Regions from separate parts of the Homo sapiens genome. Here region 2 is linked to region 1. Evidence: promoter capture Hi-C in 16 types of primary human blood cells and fetal thymus (Javierre and others, 2016). All regions are on one chromosome and are shown on one strand. Each heading gives the region's core, a stretch centred on a gene start or on the middle of the fragment in contact. The rest is flanking DNA. Distances are from core to core; before and after follow the strand shown. Region 1 holds the start of NOL6 (nucleolar protein 6). Region 2 overlaps DNAJA1 (DnaJ heat shock protein family (Hsp40) member A1).

Region 1 (7,868 bases), core at 2,205-4,704:
ATCACGAGGTCAGAAGATCGAGACCATCCTGGCTAACACGGTGAAACCCCGTCTCTACAAAAATAATTAGCCGGGCATGGCGGCGTGCGCCTGTAGTCCCAGCTGCTGGGGAGGCTGAGGCAGAAGAATGGCGTGAACCCGGAAGGCGGAGCATGCAGTGAGCCGAGATCGCACCACTGCACTACAGCCTGGGGAACAGAGCAAGACTCTGTCTCAAAAAAAAAAAGAATACCCATTTTACTACCAAAATGTATTCAGAAATGGATCACTTCTCTAAAAAGAAAACTTTTTTAAAACAGAGAGAGGAAAAGATTTAAAAAAAAAAAAAAAAAAGAAAGAAATGGATCACTTCACTACTTTCCTCCCTAGTTTGAGGAGCCACCATTTCTCAGTGCCTAGACTAGTTCCTAACTGGTCTCTCTAATCTCATCATTGTCCCTCTCGATTCTACTTTTGACACAACAGCCGGAGTAAATTTTTCTAAAACTAAACTTTTTAAGGCTGGAAAAGTGAACGTTTTAGGCTGGGCACGGTGGCTCACACCTGTAATCCCAGCACTTTGGAAGGCCAAGGAGAGCAAATTACCTGAGGTCAGGAGTTCAAAACTAACCTGGCCAACATGGTGAAACCCCCTCTCTACTAAAAATACCAAAAAAATTAGCCGGGTGTGATAATCCCAGCTACTCGGGAGGCTGAGGCAGGAGAATAGCTTGAACCCGAGAGGTGGAGGCTGCAGTGAACTGAGATCGCGCCATTGCACTCCAGTGTGGAGGACAAGAGCGAGACTTCGTCTCAAAAACAAAAACAAAAACGTGAACTTTTAAAAGTTAGAGGGCATCACTGTTCTGCAAAATAAAATCCAGCAGTGGCTCCCCATCTCACCCAGAGCAACAGCCAAAGTCCCTACTTCGGGACACAATGCCCTGCATGATATGCTACTTTTCCCCATCACCTTTCTGAACTCATCTCCTTCTGTATTCCTCATTCATTCCAAGGAATGTAACTGGAACATTCCTGCCTTTGTGCCTTTGTACTGGCTGTTCCCCCTTCCTGGAATGCTTTTATTCCCTTAGATATCTATATAGCTGACTCACCTACTTCAAGTCTTTACACAAATGTCACTTCAATAAGGCCTACTTTGTGAACACCCCCTTTAAACTTGTAAACCACTCCCATCCTCTAATACTCCCAATCCCCTTACATTGCTCGTCCTACTTTTTCCTTTTTCCAGTGTTTACCACATTCTAACATTGCCATAGAGTTTACCTGTTATGCTTATCTATTAACTATAACCTCAGCATTACAGCATAGGCTATTATTTACTGATATATCCTAAGAACACAAATACTGCAAGGCATGGAAGTACTTGCTGAATGAATACACAAATGACCACGCTCCCAGCTAAGCTTCCTTGCTGTGAGAATGAGCTCCCTGCACCCCAACCCTTAAACAGAGTAACAGCAAGGCCCCTGTTTGATATACCCCCACTGGAGGTCTCTCTTGGGCTTCCCAGTTCCCCAGGCCACTTGCTTACCTCTGTCTCAGGGACTGAGGGCACCCTCACAACCCGCTGGTTGACCTCCCGTAGGAAGGCATCAATCCGATCCTTCTTCTTCTCTGACAGCCTTACTTCCTTTAGTAGCTCCTCTACCTGTAAGAGAGGGTAGAAGACAGTCCATCAGCCTCAGGGTCCCAGGTACACACCTCGAACAAAAGCTGCAGACACTCAACAGTACCTGTAAACGAAGCAAGCTGGAGTGGAACAAGATCTCAGTCTCCCGAAGGCGATTAAGCTCCTCATTGGTAGGCTCCTTGTACAGTTCTGCCCTGCTGAGCTTCACTGGCTGCAGGAGGCCCTTCGCTGGAGGTTCAGCCAATGTACGCTTCCTGGAGGATGCTTTCTTCCCCTCTTTGCCTGTGCCTTCCAGGGCTGGTTCCATCACCTGTGGCCAGTGAGGGAGAAGCCATTTTGAGGTAATAGGTATCTAGCATCTGCTGCCTAAAGTGCCACCATGATAGGTTGTGGGTAAAAGCTTCACCTGCTCTGTCCCTCTTTTGAGTAGGAGTCAGATTTTGTAAAACTCAGGAGAATCGTTACTTGGATGAACATCACTGAGCGCTGAGCCGAAAATTCCTTGAGTTAAGAGCTCTCCTGTCTACCTGACACCACAAGCATGGAGCTCTGTTTGGAATTGGTAGTGATAGAAGCTGACTGGGCCCAGGCTGGACACGGTGGCTGACGCCTGTAATCCCAGCAGTTTGGGAGGTGGAGCTGGGCGGATCAGCTGAAGTCAGGAGTTCGAAATCAGCCTGGCCAACATGGGGAAACTCCGTCTCTATTAAAAATACAAAAATTAGCCAGGTGTGGTGGCACATGCCTGTAATCTCAGCTACGCGGGAGACTGAGGCAGGAAAATCACTTGAACCCAGGAGGCAGAGGCTGAAGTGAGCCGAGATCGTGCCATTGCATTCTAGCCTGGGCAACAGAGCAAGACTGTCAAAAAAAAAAAAAAAAAAAAGAAGCTGACTGAGCCCTGCCCTAAGTAATGCCCAGGCCCCTTGTATTTTCAGGAAGTTTCCTCTTCTGCTGATATAGGCCTGGGACTTCTCAAATGTCTTTCCCATTCTCGCTCCAACCAAATCCTGCCAGGTTCCACCTCCTCTAGGAAGACCTGACTGCCTCAGTTTACACTAAATACTCACTGATGGAAGGAGCTAGAACCGACTGGACCCCAGAGGACACATTTAGCAAGTCATTAAATCCTCAAAATAATTCTTGAAGACACTTGAAGTCCCACTATTCACTCGAGGTTCCACAACTGGTACACCCGTACTATGAGCAGGCTTCAAAGGCAAGCGTGCAGGATCCCAAACCTTTTCCCCTACAGCCGTGGGCCCATCCGCTCCACGATGCCTCTCATCCCAGAGAGCCTTACTGGAGCGCTCCAGGAGAGGCACCGTATGCCCTCCGCTACAGCGGGGAGCACAGAACTGGACACAAATTCTGTGGAGGAAGATCCCGCTTATCGTCAAGGACCACCAAATAAAAGAAACGACCCAAGTGTGGGTCTCTTCAACTTTGAGGTGCAGAGCTCCAGAAGAGAGCAGAGGCTCTACCGGCTTCACTGCTTCTAACCAAATACTGCCAGGTTCCATCACCCCTAGCAAGCCCTGTCTCAGTGCCACTGGCTGGAAACATCCTCCAGAATGGGCCGCCGGCATGGCTTTCACCCGCAAGCTGTCAGATCACGCCATCTCGGGCCCTGCAGCCAAGGGAGCGCACATTGAGCCTCTGTTCCTCCCCGATGGCTCAACCCACCTCTGGCTCTCCAGTCGCTCCGCGAAGCTGCTCTCCAGCTGGCGCCGGCCCCATCACTCAGGGTCCAGCACTCTCCCGCACTTCAGATTCTAGCCGGGTCTATACCTCATAGCTTCCCACGTGGGCGGAAATGCCTAACTCCAGGCCCAAGTCCAGCCCACCCCAATTCCTCAGGACTCCACCCACTCCAGAGCTATTGGATTATCAGTCGATTACTCGCTTGCCATTGGCCGGGCAGTCTCAAGGCCCGCCCATTAGGGGAGGGGACAAACGGGTTTCTGTGCTTTACGGCCTCTTCGCGACGCTAGAACGGAAGCCTGCCCGTAGCTAGGCCTTTGCTTTCTTTTCCTCACTTCCTTCGCGTGGCTGCAATCGGGAAGGGCGGAGCTAGTTTGTTCCTTTTGGTCAGGTTTGTTTACAGCAGTTATTCCTCCCTTTTTCTTTATTTGCTACACCTTATCAGTTAACAAATCTTGTCAGTTCTACCTCCAAAACATACCTTGAATTTATTCATTTTTCTGTGTCTTCACTGCCAGGTTTAGCCCGTCACATCATCTTGTTCCCGAATTATTGTTATGACTTTTCTCCAGTTTTTACTTATTACTTAGCTTATTACAATTTCAAGTAATTTAGTTATTTTTATTTATTTATTTATTTATTTATTTATTTATTTATTTATTTATTTTTGGAGTAGTCTTGCTCTGTCGCCCAGGCTGGAGTGCAGTGGCACGATCTCAGCTCCCTGCATCCTCCCTCTCCCAGGCTCAAGCGATTCTCGTGCCTCAGCCTCCTGAGGAGCTGGGATTACAGGCAGGTACCATCACACCCGTCTAATTTTTGTATTTTCACTAGAGATGGGGTTTCCTCATGTTGCCTAGGCTGGTCTCAAACTCCTGACTGCCAGTGACCCGCCCACCTTGGCCTCCCGAAATGCTGGGATTACAGGCCTGAGCCACTGCTCCCGGCCTATTTTTAAACTATTAAAAATTTAAAACAAATGTTGCAAGAATAATATAATGAATGCGCATATACTCTTCACCTAGATTCACTTAGTGTTACTATTTTGCCAAGTTTATCTTTACCTATGTATTTACATATTATTTTGCAAAACCATTTGAAAACCAATCACACATCTCCCTAAATACTTAGGTATGTATCTACTAAGATCAAGGACTACCTCTTATGTAAGCACAGCCCGATTATGAAATTAAGGAAATTTAATCGTGATTCAATACTAGTATACAAATTCCATCTTTAAATTTTGTCAGTTATTCCAGTAATAACCGTTATATGTTTCATTTTATTTCCTAATGCAGGATCATCTAAATTCAACTATTACCATATAATATATATATATATATATATATATATATATATATATATATTTTTTTTTTTTTTTTTTTTTTTTTTTTTTGAGAGAGAGTGAGTGTCCCTCTGTTGCCCAGGCTAGAGTGCAGTGGGTCGATCTCAGCTTACTGCAACATCCACCTCCTGGTTCAATTGATTATTGTGGCTCAGCTTCCCAAGTAGCTGGGATTACAGGCATGCGCCAACACACCAGGCCAATTTTTGTATTTTTAGTAGAGACAGAGTTTCACCATGATGGCCAGCCTGATCTCAAACTCTGGCCTCAAGTGATCTGCCCTCCTCAGTCTCCCAAAATGCTGGGATTACAGGGGTGAGCCACCGTGCCCAGTCTAAAAATTTGTATTGAAGTACAATATACATAAGGAAAAATGTACATATCCCAAGTGTAAAGCTTGAATACTAACAAACCAAACATACTCATATAGTCAGCTCCCAGAAAATAAGCAGAACATTTCCTGCACCTTCAGAATCTCCCCTCATGCTGCCCTCTAGTAACTCTGCCCCCAACAATCACTATTCTGACTTCAAACAGTGCAGGTCAGTTTATACAATAGCTTTTTTATTATTTATTATTTATTTATTTATTTATTTTTTGAGACAGAGTCTCACTCTGTCGCCCAGGCCGGAGTGCAGTGGCACGATCTCGGCTCACTGCAAGCTCCACCTCCCGGGTTCAAGTGATTCTCCTGCCTCAGCCTGCCAAGTAGCTGGGACTACAGGCGCCCGCCACCACGCCCGGCTAATTTTTTGTATTTTTTAGTAGAGACGGGGTTTCACCGTGTTAGCCAGGATGGTCTTGATCTCCTGACCTCATGATCCACCCGCCTTGGCCTCTGAAAGTGCTAGGATTACAGGCGTGAGCCACCGCGCCCGGCTATGCGATAGCTTTTTAAGGAAGTTTCAGAAGAGCGGTATGTCCATTTTCAATTCATTTTCCACACAGCTGCCAGAATTAGTTTTCTAAAATAGAAATTCTATCATGTCACTTCCTTTTAAAAACTCATCAGTGTCTTCCAATTGTACTTAAAACTAAACACAAACTTCAACTTCCATAAAGTCATGATCAATATGGCCCTTCACTTGCTATTCCTTCTTTTTATTTTATTTTATTTTTTTTTTTTTGCGACAGAGTCTTGCTCTGTCACCCAGGCTGGAGTGCAGAGGTGCAATCTTAGATCACTGCAACCTCCGCCTCCCAGATTCAAGCGATTCTCTTGCCTCAGCCTCCCTAGTAGAGTAGCTGGGACTACAGGCACATGCCACCACACCCGGCTAATTTTTGTATTTTTAGTAAAGACAAGGTTTCACCATGTTGGCTAGGCTGGTCTCAAACTCCTGACCTCAAGTGATCCGCTCACCTCAGCCTCCAAAAGTGCTGGGATTACAGGGGTGAGCCACCTTGCCCAGCTATTCCATCTTTTTTGTGGGAGAAGAGGGGCAAGTTCTCGCTCTGTTGCCTAGGCTAGAATACAGTGGTGGAATCACACCTCAGCCTCCTGAGTAATTGAGACTACACACGCGCACCACCATGCCTGGCTAATTTCTGTATTTCTGTGTAGACTTTTGCCATGTTGCCCAGGCTGGTTTCAAACTCCTGAGCGCAAGGAATCTGCCGGCCTCGGCCTTCGAAAATGCTGGGATTACAGGCATCGGCCACTGCCTGGCCCTCATCATTTTTCTTGCTACTCCACCCCTGGTTCCCTGAGCTACAGCAACATCAGCTTTCTTTCAGTTCCTTCGTTGTATTAAGTTCTTTCCTAACTCCGGGACTTCACCCAAGCTGTTTGTTCCATTTGGAATTTTGCTTTCTTGGCTTTTTCTCCTTTTCATCTTTCACCTCTCAGCATAAATATCACCTCTGGACTCAAACCATCCTCCCACCCCAGCTTCCTGGCTAGCTGGGACCACAGGCGTGCACCACACACTCGACTAATTTTTTGTAGAGACAGGATTTCACCATGTTGCCCAGGCTGGTCTCAAATTCCTGGACTCAAGTGATCCTCCCACCTTGGCCTCCCGAAGTGCTAGGATTACAGGCTTGAGCCACTGTGCCCGGCCAAGGTCTTAACTAAAGTCCTAAAATATGTTCTCTAAACAAATATAGATATGTTTTCTTTCTTTTTTTTTTTTTTTTTTTGAGATGGAGTCTTTCTCTGTCACGCAGGCTGCAGTGCAGTGGCAAGATCTCAGCTTACTGCAACTTCCACCTCCCAAGTTTAAGTGATTCTCCTGCCTCAGCCTCTGGAGTAGCTGGGATGACAGCCACATACCACCACACCTGGCTAATTTTTGCATTTTTAGTAGAGTAGGCCACCATGTTGGCCAGACTGGTCTTGAACCCCTGTCCTCAAGTGATCTGCCCTCCTCTGCCTCCCAGAGTACTGGGATTACAGGCGTGAGCCACCACGCCCAGGCTGTTATGTTTTCTCTTTCTTTCTCCCTCCCTCCCTCCCACCCTCCTTCCTTTATTTTCTTTTTTCTTTTTTTTTTTTTTTTTTTTTTCTGAGACAGAGTGTTGCCCTGTCGCCCAGGCTGGAGTGCAGTGGCAAGATCTCAGCTTACTGCAACCTCTTCCACCTCCGGGGTTCAAGCAATTCTCATGCCTCAGCCTCCCGAGTAGCTGGGACTACAGGTGCACACCACCTCGCCTGGCTAATTTTTTGTATTTTAGTAGAGACAGGGTTTCACCATGTTCCCCAGGCTGGTCTTGGACTCCGAACTCAGGCAATCAGCCCACCTTAACCTCCCCAAGTGCTAGGATAACAGGCGTGACCGACCACGCCCGGCCTGGCCAATATGTTTTCTAAAACGTTTCTCTTATATCATCCATTTTCCTTTTAGTGCTTTTTACAATTTCTGGTTATCAATTGTCTCTCCTTTTGTTTTACTTTTATTTATAAATTTATTACTATTTTTTTAGAGACAGGATCTCACTGTCACCCAGGCTGCAGTGCAGTTGTAGCTCACTGCAGCTTGGGATACCTGGGCTCAAGTGATCCTCCCAAGTAGCTAGGACTACAGGTATATGCCACCATGCCCAGCTAATTTTTAAATATTTGGTAGTGGTCTTGACCTCAGAATCTCAAACAATCCTCCCTCATCAGCCTCCCAAAGCACTGGGATTATAAGCATGAGCCACTTGCCCAGCCCAGTTGTCTCTTTTTGCCCTTGACTGTGAATA
Region 2 (7,868 bases), core at 451-2,950, 440 kb before region 1:
GGTGTGAGCCACCATGCCCAGCCAGTGGTGTCGCTTTTTTTAAAATGAGATTTAAGGGGCCTAAAAAATAGCCAACAGAGTGGTAGCAAATGACTGCTTCCAAAAATCTTAGATATTATCAAACAAATTATGAGAACAGGCCGCGTGCTGTGGCTCATTCTGTAATCCCAGCACTTTGGGAGGCCGAGGTGGGTGGATCACTGAGGTCAGGGTTCGAGACCAGCCTGGCCAAGATGGTGAAACCCCATCTCTACAAAACTACAGAATTAGCTGGGCGTGGTGGTGGGCATCTGCAATCCCAGCTCCTCTGGAGGCTGAGGCAGGAGAATCGCTTGAACCCTGGAGGCAGAGGTTGCAGCGAACGGAGGTCACGCCACTGCACTCCAGCCTGGGCAACAAGAGTGAATCTCTGTCACAAAAAACCCAAAAAAATCCAAAAATTAGCCAGGCATGGTGGTGCGTGCCTGTAATCCCAGTTACTCAGGAGGGCTGAAGCAGGAGAGTCGCTTGAACCCGGGAGGTGGAGGTTGCAGTGAGCTGAGATCGCCCAATTACACTCCAGCCTGAGCAACACAGCGAGACTCTTGTCTCAAAAAAAAAAAAAAAAAAAAAAAAAGACAAAGTATATAGCAATATAATTTTCCAAGCCCTTTTTACAGATCTTATTTGGTGTTCCCTCACTCCCCAAAGGAATTTGATGGTAGGTACAGTGGCCTTTTTCAAATGGGAGTAAGTTAAAGTTCAGAAACCTAAAACTTCTTCAAGCTCATATAGCAAGCCAACAGAGCCAGGGCTGAAAACTGGTTCGTTGCCTGCCATCTATCTATTCTTGTTTCAGCTTTATTGTGTCAAAATTATGTATTTAATATGTTTATCAGGAAAGTGGCCTATGGGCTCTAGAAATACTGCTTATAGGAGTAAAATGTTCAAGAGAAATCAGTCTCACTTTATTTCCAGTATAGTGTATACAAATAAGGGCTGATGAGCAGAACCAGTTTTAGAATGAATGGCCAAGCCATTAAATTTCACTTTGAGCTTCTTAAGGTTCAGAAAGATTTGGGAAATTGTTTATTCAGTTTTTCTTTAAAGATCTTCAAGGAAAGGATTATGTTTTTATTAAGATACTTAAACTCCTTAAAAAGAAAGTCCACAATCCAAATGACTTGCTTAGTAAATTGTTAGAATTTGTCCACAAAAAAGTAGTGGTGGTTTTTCACTTACCTTACAAAGAACCTGCAGGTTAACATTGGCAAGCTCTTTTATGTGGCTTATGATCATATTGAGAGGTTATTTCTGGGGAAATGCGCTTCATCAAGCTCTAGAAGCTTTATTTTTCCTTCCTTATACTCAACACTGTTCAAAATAAGGGCAGCTAGATTTTAGCGTGCCAAAACTAAAGGTGGAACTATAAGCAGAAGGACATAATTAATGGTATTTCATGCTTGATTAGAAAGTTAAAATGTTCATTAGGCATATTGTACAGAAACGAGTTTGAGAACTTTTTTCAGTTGGTGGAAAGGCAATAATATTGTTGTGAATAAGTCCTTGTGGAAGGACCACTAGTTAGGAACTTACTAACTTACTAGCAGGTGACTTCATACTTCTAACCTCAGTGTCCTTATGAGATCTTGACCTTCCATTTCCTATTCTGATTTAAGTGAAGTAAGGCACTCCTTAGTAGCCACTGGCCATGTGTGGCTCCATTAATTTAAGACAAAAACAAAAATACGGTTTCTTAGTCTAAATGGCCACATTTACATGCTCAATAAGCACATGTGATTGGTGGCTGCTACGTTGGACAGAACAGATATAAAACATTTATCACTGCAGAAAGTTCTGTTGGGCAATGCTATTATAAAAGGTATGAGAAATTTGGCCTTCAAAACAACCAGTGCTGGCCCAGCAGTAAATGGGCTGTTTTCTACTAAATCAGGAAGAAGTAGAAATTGATACTCTTCTGTGGTGACTCAATAAATACATCAGCTTCCCTGGCCAATCTTGATTAATGAGAATTTACTGTGCTACAGAATTTTTGGATGAAGTAATTGGCCATGTTGCTCAATACGGTACGAAGTGAAAGCTTCAAAAAATATATTGTGACAGAAATGAATGTTTGGATTATTGTGAAATGTGCCCTTTTAAATAACATTGGTTTTTCTCAAGTGACTTTGAAGGTAATGCTTTTGCTTACCATATTTCCAAGATGGCCACGTCTGTGCCCTTAAGCAAATATTTAATCTCTGACCTGATTTTCCCTCATCTGTGATTACATCACAGTTTGAGGATCATCTGTGATAACGTGAACATTCTGTGTATATAGTAGGTAGTCAACAGATGTACCCTGTGAGGCTCATCTTTTATTATTCTTTGCCACATTCTTTATAGTGCCTTTAGCACAAATAAGATCCAGCATCTTAAACAGATTTGCAATGAGAAATATTTTGTTTTAGGTAAAAATGTTGTACATCAGCTCTCAGTAACCCTAGAAGACTTATATAATGGTGCAACAAGAAAACTGGCTCTGCAAAAGAATGTGATTTGTGACAAATGTGAAGGTACGGTGTTTTTTTGTTTTGTTTTGTTTTGTTTTTAAGCACCTTTAATATGACACCTGAAAATGGAGCTAAGACTTCTAGATAGATATGTAAAATTGATTCATGTACACTACCTAGATTTTGGGGGAGGAGAGGGCAGATATGAAGAAAACCAACTGAAAACCTCCCACCTAAAGAAATATCAGCACTTTTTTCTGTGTATATTTTAAATACAGTTGGGATCAAGCTAGTTTGGTATCTTTTTTGTAATAAGTAAAATTTATTGGAAAGTGTGTTCTAATAAGAATGAAACTCATTGGAATGATCTCATCAGTTGTACATTCAGAGGGTAGCATTCCATCAGGCTTCGAAAATATTAAAAGTATAGCATTTAGGAATTGTCTTCTTAAAACATTTACTACTGTATACACTACTAATTCATACATTATTTAATTTTCTTTTTAAATTTAGGTAGAGGAGGTAAGAAAGGAGCAGTAGAGTGCTGTCCCAATTGCCGAGGTACTGGAATGCAAATAAGAATTCATCAGATAGGACCTGGAATGGTTCAGCAAATTCAGTCTGTGTGCATGGAGTGCCAGGGCCATGGGGAGCGGATCAGTCCTAAAGATAGATGTAAAAGCTGCAACGGAAGGAAGATAGTTCGAGAGAAGAAAATTTTAGAAGTTCATATTGACAAAGGTGAGTTCTGAGTTACTTATTCTGAAGTCTTGAATGCTGTGGCAGATTTATTATTAACATTTTATAATTGTTTAAAAATCATTCTTAATTAGGTTATATATGATCCTATCAATCAGAAATAACTCTTAGCAGCTTAGTAAATAATGTTCTTTTATCCAGACATAATTTTGCACATTGGTATATTACTAATACAGAATATATTAGGAATCTCCTCATTTAATATAACAGGATCATCTTTTGAAATCTGTGGTCCTGTAAATGATTGAATAGTGTTCCAAACTTAATTCTCTCCTGTTAAACCATAGTTCTTCCATCTTTTAAAACATTAGAATTGTACACATTCTTAATTAGGAGTTACTAGATCAAGGGATAGGCATACTTTTAAGGATTTGAAAGGGGAGTTAGGTGAAGAATTGGGTCTCATAAAAATTCATGGTTTTTTTGGAGACGGAGTTTCGCTCTTGTTTCCCAGGCTGGAGTGTGCAATGGCACGATCTCAGCTCATTGCAACCTCTGCCTCCCGGGTTCAAGCAGTTCTTCTGCCTCAGCCTCCCAAGTACCTGGGATTACAGGCACCCAGCACCATGCCCGGCTAATGTTTTGTATTTTTAGTAGAGACGGGGTTTCACCATGTTGGCCAGGCTGATCTCGAACACTTGACCTCAGGTGATGACCTGCCTCGGCCTCCCAAAGTGCTGGGATTACAGGCATGAGCTACCGCACCCCGCCTCATGTTTATTTTTTAAACCAATGGGCATGTTTTTGTTTGTTTGTTTTTTTCTGAGGTAGAGTCTTGCTCTGTTGCCCAGGCTTGAGTGCAGTGATGCGATCTTGGCTCACTCTAACCTCTGCCTCCTGGGTTCAAGCGATTCTCCTGCCCCAGCTTCCCAGGTAGCTGGGACTACAGGTGTGCACCACCACACCTGGCTAATTTTTTTTGTATTTTTAGTAGAGATGGGGTTTCACCATGTTAGGCTGGTCTCAAACTCTTGACCTCAAATGATCTGCCTGCCTTGGCCTCCTAAAATGCTGGGATTACAGGTGTGTGCCACCATACCTGGCCTGGGCTAGTTTAAATAAGCGTATTGGCCCACTTAATTGGCTTACTTGCCCATCTATTATATTTAAATGCTCCGTTAATTGATTTGATAGACTACCTTTCATTTTTTTAGACTTGACACTTCCCTAACCCATTGGGCTCCAGATTTAGAAATAACTATATAACCTTTTTTTTGTATTCTCGGGATTTGATTGATTTGTCAATTTTTAAATTTTACTCTTGTCAACTTGCAAAAACATTTTAAAATGTATTACAGCAATACACTGCAGAAATTTTAAGAAATGTATATAACCCCAGAAGGAAACTTAAGTCAACATTATGGTAATCTCTTTTCAGATTTTGCTGTTTATAAATGGGTCTACTATTATACTGTACTGTGGTATGATACCAATCTGGAACTGTTAATATTTGAACATATTTCCATATTAATATACAAATCTACATTAACATAAGTGGCTGCAATAGGATTCTATCATGTGACTCATGATACTGGCCTCTCTGACCCCCAGGGTTCCACCCAAGAATGTAGTACATTGAAAGGTAAAAATAAGTTTCCTTGGCCAGTTGTTGAACTTAATAAATCTGTGTTTACCCCTTAGTGGGCCCATGCCTAAGGTTTATACTTTGAGGTGTTCTTGATACCAATAGCATACAGAGTAAGTCTTAACGTTGTTGATAGGTTCTTGGAAACTGGGACTTCTAGCAGAATGACCTCAAATAATGTCATGCAGGTCCTCAAATAATGTCATGTCACTGTAACACAGCTGAGGGGAAAAAAATTGGTCTTGTTATGTGTCATTTCATTTAAAGCAATTTCCAAGAACCTATCAACAATGGACTGTAAGTGAGAACTTGAAATTAATGCCCTAACTATATAGCAAGTGAAGGCATTTGTGCTGTGCCTACTCTTACTCTGTATTCAGGAAAACCTAGCTGAGTTTAATTGCTTCCCTAGCATAACAAGTTATTTTGCCTCAATACACGATTAAAGACAGATTGTTTAATTTTGTCAGTGTATGATACTGATAGCGCTTTAAGTCCTTATTTAAGAGGTACGTACTGAAGTATTTGTGGGTTAATGGATATAGTTGGAGTTTGCTTGAAAGTATATGTGGGGGGCATGCGTAGGGGTGTAATACATGAAATATTAGTCATGAGTTAGTAACTGCTGAAGCCAAATTGGATGGATATGTAGGAATTCATTGTACTGTTGGCTCTGTTTATACAGGATTAATATTTTCCATACGTAAAGGTGAAACATGATTGCTCTGTTAGGTAACCAGAGTGATCTTGGGAAATAATCAGGAGATAACTGCTTTGGTGTAATACTCTACAAACACAGGTTTTCTTACATGAGTTATGTTCTAAGAGACGTTGCCCAAACCCTTACTGAACTAAAATATGTGGGTCAGAGGTGAGGGGCACGAAGTCTCAGTTTAAAAAAAAAAAAAAAGGCGTGTTTTTTTGCCCTGTTAGAAAATACTCCTCCCCTTGTATTTTACGGACCACATGGGCTAAGGGAGTGTCTAGCACTGATTGTTTTGTTTGCTTGTTTAATTTAAATGAGACAAGGTCTGGAACTCCTGTGCTCCAGGGTGCTATCCTCAGGGTATCCTCCTGACTCGGCCTCTCAAAGTATAATTACCCTTTTTTTAAGGGGACTATACTGAATAGTTCTTTAAAATACGGATTTTCAGGCACAGGGGCTCAGGTCTGTAATCCGAACACTATAGGATGCCGAGGCAGGATCCCTTGAGCCCAGTAGTTCAAGACCAGCCTGAGCGACATGAGAACCCCCATCTCTATTAAAAAAAAAAAAATTCAAAAATTAGCTGGTCTGTGGTCCTGGCTACTCGGGAGGCTGAGGTGGGAGGATCACTTGAGCCCAGGAGATGGAGGCTGCAGTGAGCCATGTTTGTGCCACTGCACTCCAGCCTAGGCAACAGAGCAAGATCCTATCTCAAGAGAAGATTATAGATTTAAAATTTTTTTAGTTTTATATATAAATACTACAATAGAAGGGTCTTGATTTACATTGCTGTTAGACTTTTAATAGAAGTAATTTGATGTGTTATAAGTAATGAAACTGAAATACTTAATTAACATTTTTTGGTTATAACCAGTGTTAGCCAGTCATGGTTTAGTACCAGCATATACCTGTTGAGTTAATACTCTAAATATTGCTAATGAGGTGTAGGTGTCTGTGGGAAAGTTGAAACTTGGAAAGGATATGCAGCTTACTTCCCCAGGGTAATCCAGCCAGTGAATAGCAGCTCTGAGATTTGAAGGCTAGTCTCTTTGCCTCTGGAGTTTGTGTTCTCCACTATGATACCTTTCTTCAGGAGCAAATTGGACTGAACTACTTAAGTGGGCTTTCTTAGTCATTTCTGTGATTTTTATGCATAAACAAACATCTATGTATAGATTTTATGATTCTGACCTTAGTTGGATATTTAATAAAAGTACAAAATTAATGTTTTGTTTTTAGGCATGAAAGATGGCCAGAAGATAACATTCCATGGTGAAGGAGACCAAGAACCAGGACTGGAGCCAGGCGATATTATCATTGTGTTAGATCAGAAGGACCATGCTGTTTTTACTCGGTAAAGACTTTTATCAACCACTCAAATTGATATCACATATTTGGGTTGTTGGTTTTGTTTTTTGTTTTTTTGTTTTTTTTAAAGTGTTTTCCATTACTCTTAGAACCTATTTCTCAGGAAGATTGTTAACCATTGTTCAGATCATAAGAGGTTGAATACATAGGATCAGATTTTTAGCTTTTTGTCTCTAAGTATGGAACGTTGAAAATGTGTTTCAATTAGATGTTTTGTGTGAACCTAAGCAGCAGATGGGTGGGGAAAACATCCCTGGACAAAAATTTGCCCTCAATCTTTGTAAAGCAATTTAAGTGCCTTAAAGCTCTCACCAGTTTTCAATCTCATTTATGATAAATTGAATTGCTTTTAATTATAAATATCCAAAAGCATCTCTGTAGGAAACTTAAATTGTAACTCAATACTAAGTATAAATTCAGGTCTACCATTTTGAGCTAAATAATGAGTATGATGAACACTGAAGCACAAGAAAGATGGATGATTAACAGCAAATGTTTGTGATCCATGGCTAACATAACACCCTCTGTGCATGCTATATTCCCAGCAACTTGGGAGGCTGAGGTGGGAGGATCACTTGAGGCCAGGAGTCCTAGCTACTGGGGAGGCTGAGGCAGAAGAGTGGCTTGAACTCAGGAGTTCAAGGTTATGATCATGCCACTGCATTCTAGCCTGGGTGACAGTAAGAACCCACCTTTTTTTTTTTTTTTTTTTAATGGAGTGGAGGTGAAATTGGGAACATCTTAAACTAGTTTAGGATTAATTAATATTTCAGCTTGGTTTGGTGGCTTACGCCTGTAATCCCAACACTTTAGGAGGCCGAGGTGGATGGTCAGGAGTTCAAGACCAGCCTAGCCAACATGGTGAAATGCCATCTCTGTTAAAAATTAAAAAATTAGCCAGGCATGGTGGCAGGCCCTGAGGCAGGAGAATCACTTGAACACAGGAGGCAGAGGTCGC

Evidence for each region. Contacts are between HindIII fragments. The CHiCAGO score rates a contact against its expected background, and 5 or more counts as called.
Region 2: a contact is called between a fragment that was not itself captured here and the fragment with the promoter of NOL6 in region 1, in 2 of 17 cell types (naive B cells and naive CD8 T cells). The highest score is 6.1, in naive B cells.

The regions. Positions count from the first base shown.
Region 1 is chr9:33,470,470-33,478,337 of GRCh38, forward strand. It overlaps NOL6 (nucleolar protein 6), which reads right to left and starts at 3,455. Exons shown (of 26, transcript NM_022917.5): 1 at 3,320-3,455; 2 at 1,737-1,943; 3 at 1,535-1,651. The coding sequence starts at 3,373. LOC107987061 (a long non-coding RNA gene) reads left to right here and starts at 3,671. Exons shown (of 3, transcript XR_001746648.3): 1 at 3,671-3,728. RefSeq lists an enhancer at 3,067-3,406. The HindIII fragment of the contact is 3,045 bases long and covers 2,032-5,076 here.
Region 2 is chr9:33,027,435-33,035,302 of GRCh38, forward strand. DNAJA1 (DnaJ heat shock protein family (Hsp40) member A1) reads left to right here. Exons shown (of 9, transcript NM_001539.4): 4 at 2,451-2,555; 5 at 3,006-3,233; 6 at 6,782-6,896. Among named protein-coding and RNA genes, the nearest start is that of DNAJA1, 6.1 kb to the left of the region's middle. The HindIII fragment of the contact is 755 bases long and covers 1,324-2,078 here.